2 separate regions of the Homo sapiens genome follow, and region 2 is linked to region 1. Evidence: promoter capture Hi-C in 16 types of primary human blood cells and fetal thymus (Javierre and others, 2016). All regions are on one chromosome and are shown on one strand. Each heading gives the region's core, a stretch centred on a gene start or on the middle of the fragment in contact. The rest is flanking DNA. Distances are from core to core; before and after follow the strand shown. Region 1 holds the start of STX17 (syntaxin 17). Region 2 overlaps LOC101928438 (a long non-coding RNA gene).

Region 1 (3,877 bases), core at 484-2,983:
TTCAGGAAAATGTCGGCCAGTAGTAGCAGGCCTGCCCCTAACAACTTGATGACCTAGAGTACACAAAAGAGGTCCACACACCATATGTTTGAATATTTAAAGATTATAAATCAAGCTAACCAACAGTTAGATTAAAAGGTTTTGGTCGGGCATGGTGGCTCACACCTGTAATCCCAGTACTTTGGGAGGCCGAGGCGGGCGGATCACGAGGTCAGGAGATCAAGACCATCCTGGCTAACATGGTGAAACTCTGTCTCTATTAAAAATACAAAAAATTAGCCGGGCATGTTGGCACACGCCTGTAGTCCCAGCTACTCAGGAGGCTGACACAGGATAATCGCTTGAATCTGGGAGGTGGAGGTTGCAGTGAGCTGAGATCATGCCACTGCACTCCAGCCTGGGCGAAAGAGCAAGACTCTGTCTAAAAAAAAAAAAAAAAAAAAAATGTTTATCCTACTACTTTGACACACCTAACTTACAGCAAACATACATATAACAACTTAGAAGTCCAGGTCCAAATTTAGAATCTTTGAGTACCACACCTCCTGATTTTGTACCTGAGGAAGCTTTTTCAGAACTTAACACAAATGATCTTTTATTTCAAAAGATCTTATTTCACTGATCCTTGCATAAAAAACATTTTCTCACAGTATTGCCTAATACTTTAATTTTTCTCCTTAGAATCAAAATTTGATAAATACATTCTGGAGCTCATTGTAAAACAAATATCAGTATACATTATGTCCCCAAAGAAAATCCAAATTGCTTGGTAGATTTGGTGCTTTGTTTTAGAAATTGTCTTTCAAGGCTTTTTAAAGGATCTACAGGCCCCTAATCTTCCCTGTTTACCTCCTACTCTACTGGAAGACCCTAAGAACTCAGTTTCCTTAACTGTGGTTTGAACATCCTGATCACTTCTGAGACAATGCCATTAGTGAATACATTCTAAGCACGTCATCTGAATATTCACAGACATCTTTTTAAAAGGGCTGGATCTGGAAGTTAGGCCATGAAGAGAGGAGGACCTGTGACTTGGACAAGGCTTCAAAGCCGGCCACCTGCTTGTTCATGTGGTTGCAGCTGGTCTAACTGGAATAACTTGGGAAGGAAATTAGGACACCCAGTTGGAGTTCCAGCTCTGCCATAAGCTGGCTGAACTGGAGTGAGTCACTTAAAACTCTTTGTTAAACCCCAGAGTCATAATCTATAAAATCGGGATAAAGACGTTTGCCTTAAGCCCTCCACCAGTTTTTGGAGGAAACCACAATTTGCTGAGCTTTAATTTTTACACCTGTTGCAATTAAGATGGCACTCCTGCCCTGTCCACTTCACAGGGCTTTTGGGGACGGGATGGGGAGGCACCACCTTTCTGAGCTTCAGTTTCAAAACAGAGCTAAGAATACATGCCCAACCCGCAAATAAAATTCTAGGAAGAACAGAGGAAAACGGACAGGAAAACTGCGAAATGCAGTCGGCCATACAAGCATGAATTGTCTTAAACACAACAAGCAGACCTAAAGAGCGTTTGTGCGTCTCTCTCCTCTTGGCTCGAGTCACAACCCCATAACGTAAATCAATATCACTTTTGAAAAAGGCTTTCGCTGTTCTCAGCAGCGTCCGCATTTGTACTCACCTGTGCGCCCCCAGCGCCCGGCCTGGGGGCCCTGCGGGGCGGGGGCGGGGGCGGGGGCGGGGCCCAACCCTGCCCACCCCTCGTGATGCCCCGCCCCGTCGCTCCTGCGCCTGCGCCGTGCCCACCGACCGGCCTCGAGCGCCCCGGCGGGAGGTAAGGGGCTCTCTGGAGGCCGCCTTTGGGGGCGTCGGGCCCTCACAGGCTTGGTGGGCCTGGCGCCCGTGTGGCGCGCGCAAGAGGCGCTGGGCGGCAAGTAGGGCATTGGATCCGAAGTGCGAGCGCCATGGTGGCTCCTCCTGTTTTTCAGAAGTGGCGGAGCCTCGCTTGGTTTCGTTTTTGGAAGCTTTATTGGAAGCTGGTATAGGGAGGCCGCAGACGATGCGAGCAGGACGGCCTCCCGGGGTCGCGGGGTGGAAAAGTTTCCGGCGCGCGTCCTGTCTCTGGCGCGCTGTAGGCCCCGGGTCGCCAGGGTCGCTGGCGTCTGGGTCCCGGGACAGACCCGCGCATCCGTTCGCTGGTGGGGGCGTTTGGTGTGTGTGGCCCAGGTGTGCTGTGGGTGACACTGCGAGGAATGACGCGACGCTCGATGGTAGTGAGGCTCGGAGGACTGGGAGCGAGAGGCCGGAAGCCCCTGCTCGCCAAACCCAGAGGTGGTTGGCAGAAGGTCCCACACCTTGGCTCCCTCCTTTTAGCTAACCGAGGTTCAGAGAGGAGACTTTACTTTGACTTTTCTCTCCAAATTCGGTATCTCTTCCATAAGTCAGAAACATTAAGCGGCGGGCCGGAAGAAATCGGGCGCCACTAGTATCCTGAAAAGTGGGAGCTCTGGGCCGATGGAAGGTGTTCGTCACTTTTGGGGGCTGGGTTTCCTGAGAAATGGGGTCTTTCACTTATTAATAACCTCCTAAGTAACTTACTGGGAAACATGAGTATTATGGTACCCATCTCATATTAGTTGTAAGCACTACATGATAAAGTTTGTAAAGCACCTGGCACAGTCCTGGCACCCCTCTCTCCAAGTATTAATGCAGTGAATACGATGGCAGTTCTTTGACTTCTAAATGTTTTTACCTGTCTTACGTGAAACATCCTCTTATACTAAAAAACTTTTTTATTTTGAAATAATTTTAAAATTACAGAAAAGTTTCAAAAGTAATACAGAGTTCCCTATTGCCTCCATTAATAATTTTTTACATACCATAGCGCAATTATCAAAAGCAAGAAGTTAATATTAGTATAATACTATTAACTGAATTACTAACTTGTGATTTTTTTTCCTGTATTAATGTCCTTTTTCTATTCTAGGATCCACTCTAAGACCCGACATTGCAGTTAGTTGTCTTGGGTCCTTGGTCTCCTCCAGTCTGTGACAGTTCCTCTGTCTTTTCCTGTCTTTACACTGATAGTCTTTTTCTGTCTTTATACTCTTTCTGATCTTTACACTTTTGAAGAATGCTGGTCAGTTATTTTGTAGAGTGCCCCTCAAATGGGGTTTGTCCAGTGTTCTCTCATGATTAGATTAAGGTTATACATTTTTGTTAAGAACACAAAAGTGTGTGTGCCCTTCTCAGTTCATCATATGAGCATAGCTGATATATATGACTTATTGCTCGTGAGGTTAATCTTGATCACTTGGTAGAGAGTGTCTGCTGGGATTCTCCAATGTAAAGGTCTTATTTTTCTCCTTATAATTGACATCTTGGGGGGGAGCTTTTAAACCGTACGCATATCCTGTTTCTCCTCAGACTTTCCCTTGCTAAATTTCACATCCATTGGTGGATCTTGCCTTCAGCAATTATTATGACTATGGTGTTCTAATGATGATTTTCTACTTTCCTCATTTCTTTATTAATTGAAATTATTCTGTAAGGATGAGCTGCCCATTTCCCATTTGTTTATTTGTATTCCGTTATTTATTTGTATCCATGTGGACTTAGATGTTTTTCTATTGGTTGTTATCCTACACTTGTGTTATTTTATGTTTGAAATTGTTCCAGCTTTGATCATTGGGAGTTTTCTTTCAGGTTGCTTTCTGTAGCTTTTCAGCATGCTTCCATCCTTTTTTTTCTTTTTTGGAACTTCCTAATTTTCTGGTACCATAGGATGCCCCAGGCTCATCTTGTGTTTTCTGTGCCTCAGCCCTGATAGTCAGCCACTTCTCCAACGACCCGTAGTTTCTTTTTTTGGAGAATAGTATTTAAACACAAAGATCTGTGCTCTAGGGATGCTCATTGCTACTGGGGT
Region 2 (3,877 bases), core at 807-3,306, 100 kb before region 1:
CAATTCTTTTATTTGTATTTCTTCTCATTTATTCATAACTGACCCCTGATAAACTATAGCAAAAATACAACCATGTGTGTACAAGAAGGGGTCACAGCAAAAGGATAGAAATAGAGAAAGGAAAATAGTAGAGAAAGAAAAATAGAAGGAAACTATTCTAAATTATGACACCAAGCAGATAGGAGTGTATTCACCTGTATAAGAGCAGAGACCATGTCATCAGCAGGTTGATTATTCTTTTTAAATTTTTCATTTCTGACTACATATATAACAGACCCATGCTAACTAAGGATGCAGAGACAGATCCCTGGAGGCAACCAGTATCATTTTAGAAAGGAAACCTTTGGCCCAATGGGACTTCGAACTGCACCTAATAAGCCAATGGCATTGCTAACAAGTCAGTGATATTTGGGGTATAGTACTGAATAGAGGCTACATAACACAAGGGCGAAAAGTACACAACTACTTCAGTCCTTGTGCCAGGCACGGTAGCTCACACCTGTAATCCCAGCACTTACGGAGGCAGAGGCACGAGGATAGCTTGAGTCCAGGAGTTCAAGACCTGCCTGAGCAACATAGTGAGGCCCTGTTCTCCAGAAAAAGGGGGGAAAAAAAAAAGATTAAAAAAATAGTAAGTTGGAACTCATTGTGCTCCCTGGTTAAAGTGCCAATTCAGTATTTACTGCACACCTGTTATAGGAAAGACACTATTTTCGGCACAGAGAGGGATACCTGGAGAAATTTGGTATGATCCAGGTCCACTAAGAATGCACAAAGTAGATGAGCCAAATGTGTACACGATAATGCAATTTAGAGTGTTGTGAGTATGTTTAAAACGCAGCATGGAAGGAAAAATAAGTCATCCATTAATCTTAATAAGAGAAATGGAGGAAGTTTCATGGCAAAGCCAGAAAGGACTCCTAAGAAAAGTTTTCATTGTGTTTCTTCATTTTATAATTGTTTTAACTATAAAGGTAATACGTGTTTACTATAGAAAATCCAAAAATACAAATAAGCAAAAAAAAAGAACACAAACCACTGCATTTCTGTATATCCCATTTCTTTATTTATTTATAAAAGTGAGAACATATTGTACATAATTTTCAGTAAGCTTGTTTTTAGGCAATAATATATTACAGCCATCTTTCCATGTTATTTATTATACTTCTACAACTGACTTTTATATTTAAATAGGTGCACATCAAAAGGTATAAAAGAGGACACAGTAAAAGCCTGACTCTCTCATCCCATGACCCATGACCTTATAATTTTAACCAGAAGCAGCCACTGTTACATTTTTTGTGATCCTTCCAGTTTCTTGTGATCCCTCCATAAATATTCTATGAATATATGAGCATACATGTATATATTTCTCTTTTTAAGTAAATGGTAGCTGTGAACACACGGTTCTGTACCTTGCATTTCTCTCCCCAGTCAGTACATATATCACTGCCTCTCAGTGGCTGCAGTGTTTCAATGTATGGATAAACAATAATTTACTCAGTCCCCTTTGATGGACATTCAGAATGTTTCCAACTCAGTCCCCTTTGATGGACATTCAGAATGCTTCCAATCTTTTACTATTACAATATTACTAGGTATATCCTCCAAGTGTAAACATGTATATATTTGTGGGTATATCTGTAGGAAAAATTGCTGGAAGTGGAATTTTGAGGTCAAAGAACATGTATGTTTTAAAATTTGACAGATATCACACAGTGTCCTCCACTAAGGCATTCCTAATTTCTACTCCTTCCAACTACAAATGAGACTGTTACCACACCTGTGGTTCCCCAGCCAGATAATGTTTTCCATTTCCCTCCCCTGGAACACACATCTTGCAGACAGGTGAGGTAACGCATCTAGTTCCGGCCAATGGAATGTGGGAATGTGAACAGAACTGATGTGTGTCGTATCCAGGCCAAGGTAACTGAGAAGAAAGTATGCATTCTCCACCCTATCTCTGCAATTCTGTCCACTGGAAACAGAAGAATTCAAGGCCCTAGGGAATGGTGGATCCCTATAATGGAAGGAGCCTATGTCCCTGAGTTACCATACAGAAAAAAACAACTGTCTGCCAACCAGAAACATCCGCAGTGGACTATTACATGAGGGAAAAATAAATTTATATTTTATTAAGCCACTGAAAAGTTGGTATTTGTTGTAACATCTCGCTTTACCCTAACTAATACACCAAGATACCCTTTTTTATATAAACATCAGATCTACAGTTCTGAAGATACTCTTAGGGAATGTTGCTCAAGTATTTCAAAATTAACTTTCAAAGTTAACTATGATATTGGCTGTACTGTTAAGAAAATAGCCTTCATTTCCTGGATTAACAAGAGCTGTTTTTTGTTTCTTTGGTTTTTATCAAGAATGAGTAGTGATTTATCAAATACCTTTGCAGTATTTGTGAAAATGATTCTAAGTTTTTTTCCTTTGATCTATTAGAGTGATATCTTACATTAGTATTTCCTAATGTTGAAATAGTCTCACATTTCTAAAATAAACCATGTTTACTTGTATATTTTATTTTGTATATGCTGTTGAATGCAAGGGAATAACTGAAACAAAATAATAGATTGGGTAATTCTTTAAACATGATTTATAAATTTTAAATTTCAATTGAGGAAGTAAAAAGTACAGGAGACCCTCCAAAGAACAAATCTGTTATCTGGAAAAGCAGGTGAATGTGTATCACATTATCTGGAGCAAAAAAAAAAGAAATGGAATTCTTGAATAAAAAGATGAGAGAACTAACCAGCAGGTCCAGGAGGTCTAATTGGAAATAAAAGGCATTCAGAGAGAGAACAAGGACCATAATGGAAAAAGTAATAATCAAAACATAATACAAGAAAACTTCCCTCAGGAGGAGACTAGAATTATGAAATCAAAAGGGCTCATTGAGTACCAGACAGGATAAATGAAAAAGGGCATATACCTATATATATATCCTAGTCAGATTTCTAATTTCTGAGCTTCAAAATAAAGAAAACAGAAAAGCTTTTAGAAAGTAAGAACGAGTTACTTATAAACAAATGAGCTTGAGGCTGTCATTGGACATGGTTAAGAACACGGGCACTGAATGAAGTAAGGCTACCTGGGTTCAAATTTTGGTGTGAACTTAGGTTGGGTTGCTTAACTTCTTTATGCTTCTGTAAAATAGGGACAATGTTAGTACTTAGCTTCTCAGGTTGGCTGGAAGCAACATCTGATATAATACATGGAAGAGCCTAGCACACACAGTCAGTATACTTCTATCTGTTAACATCTAAAGCTGTATGAGTGAGTCAAAATTTTACACATTTTTGAGAAGATAAAAGCCCGAACCCTCCTCAGAACATAGCATACAGCACTAATAGTCTGAAGAACTGCACAACAGCCCCACTCTAACATCTCTAATGGTAGCTGAGCCCCATGCTAGTGAGAAGTGAGGTGGTGGGCAGAAGGAATCTCACTGACTTATTTCAATTAATGTGAGCAGGGCAAGAACAACTTTTTTTTGGCCTGGAGCTGAAGATTATTGGAGATGAAAAAAGTTGTAGGCTCTGTCAGCATAAAAGGACACAGAGTGAAGTCTCTTAAAGTCAGCAGGGACAATTCTACAATTAATAGACCTTATTACCAATGGGGACCCTCCATAAAGTAAATTGTAATGAGACTTGTGGCTGCCAGATTTGGGTATCATAAGAAGTTCTTTCATTCATACAGCTAATGTTGTCTGAGCACATCTACCACGTGTCCGGAACTACACTGGGGATCTAGCTGTATACAAGGCATGCCAAGTCCCTCCCTCAAAGAGTTTACATACATAGATCACCTTAATTAATATGACTCAAATTAGAATGCCCATATGACATAAGAAATGAATCAT

The links. The method cuts DNA at HindIII sites, captures the fragments that hold promoters and counts their contacts. A CHiCAGO score of 5 or more calls a contact.
Region 2: a contact is called between a fragment that was not itself captured here and the fragment with the promoter of STX17 in region 1, in 2 of 17 cell types (naive CD4 T cells and total CD8 T cells). The highest score is 6.0, in naive CD4 T cells.

What each region holds. Positions count from the first base shown.
Region 1 is chr9:99,904,921-99,908,797 of GRCh38, forward strand. STX17 (syntaxin 17) reads left to right here and starts at 1,734. Exons shown (of 8, transcript NM_017919.3): 1 at 1,734-1,786. It overlaps STX17-DT (STX17 divergent transcript), which reads right to left and starts at 1,681. Exons shown (of 3, transcript NR_038853.1): 1 at 1,634-1,681. RefSeq lists a silencer at 1,473-1,872 and an enhancer at 2,033-2,272. The HindIII fragment of the contact is 1,410 bases long and covers 565-1,974 here.
Region 2 is chr9:99,800,099-99,803,975 of GRCh38, forward strand. All of the region lies in intron 2 of LOC101928438 (a long non-coding RNA gene), which reads right to left. Among named protein-coding and RNA genes, the nearest start is that of NR4A3, 20 kb to the right of the region's middle. The HindIII fragment of the contact is 1,895 bases long and covers 1,110-3,004 here.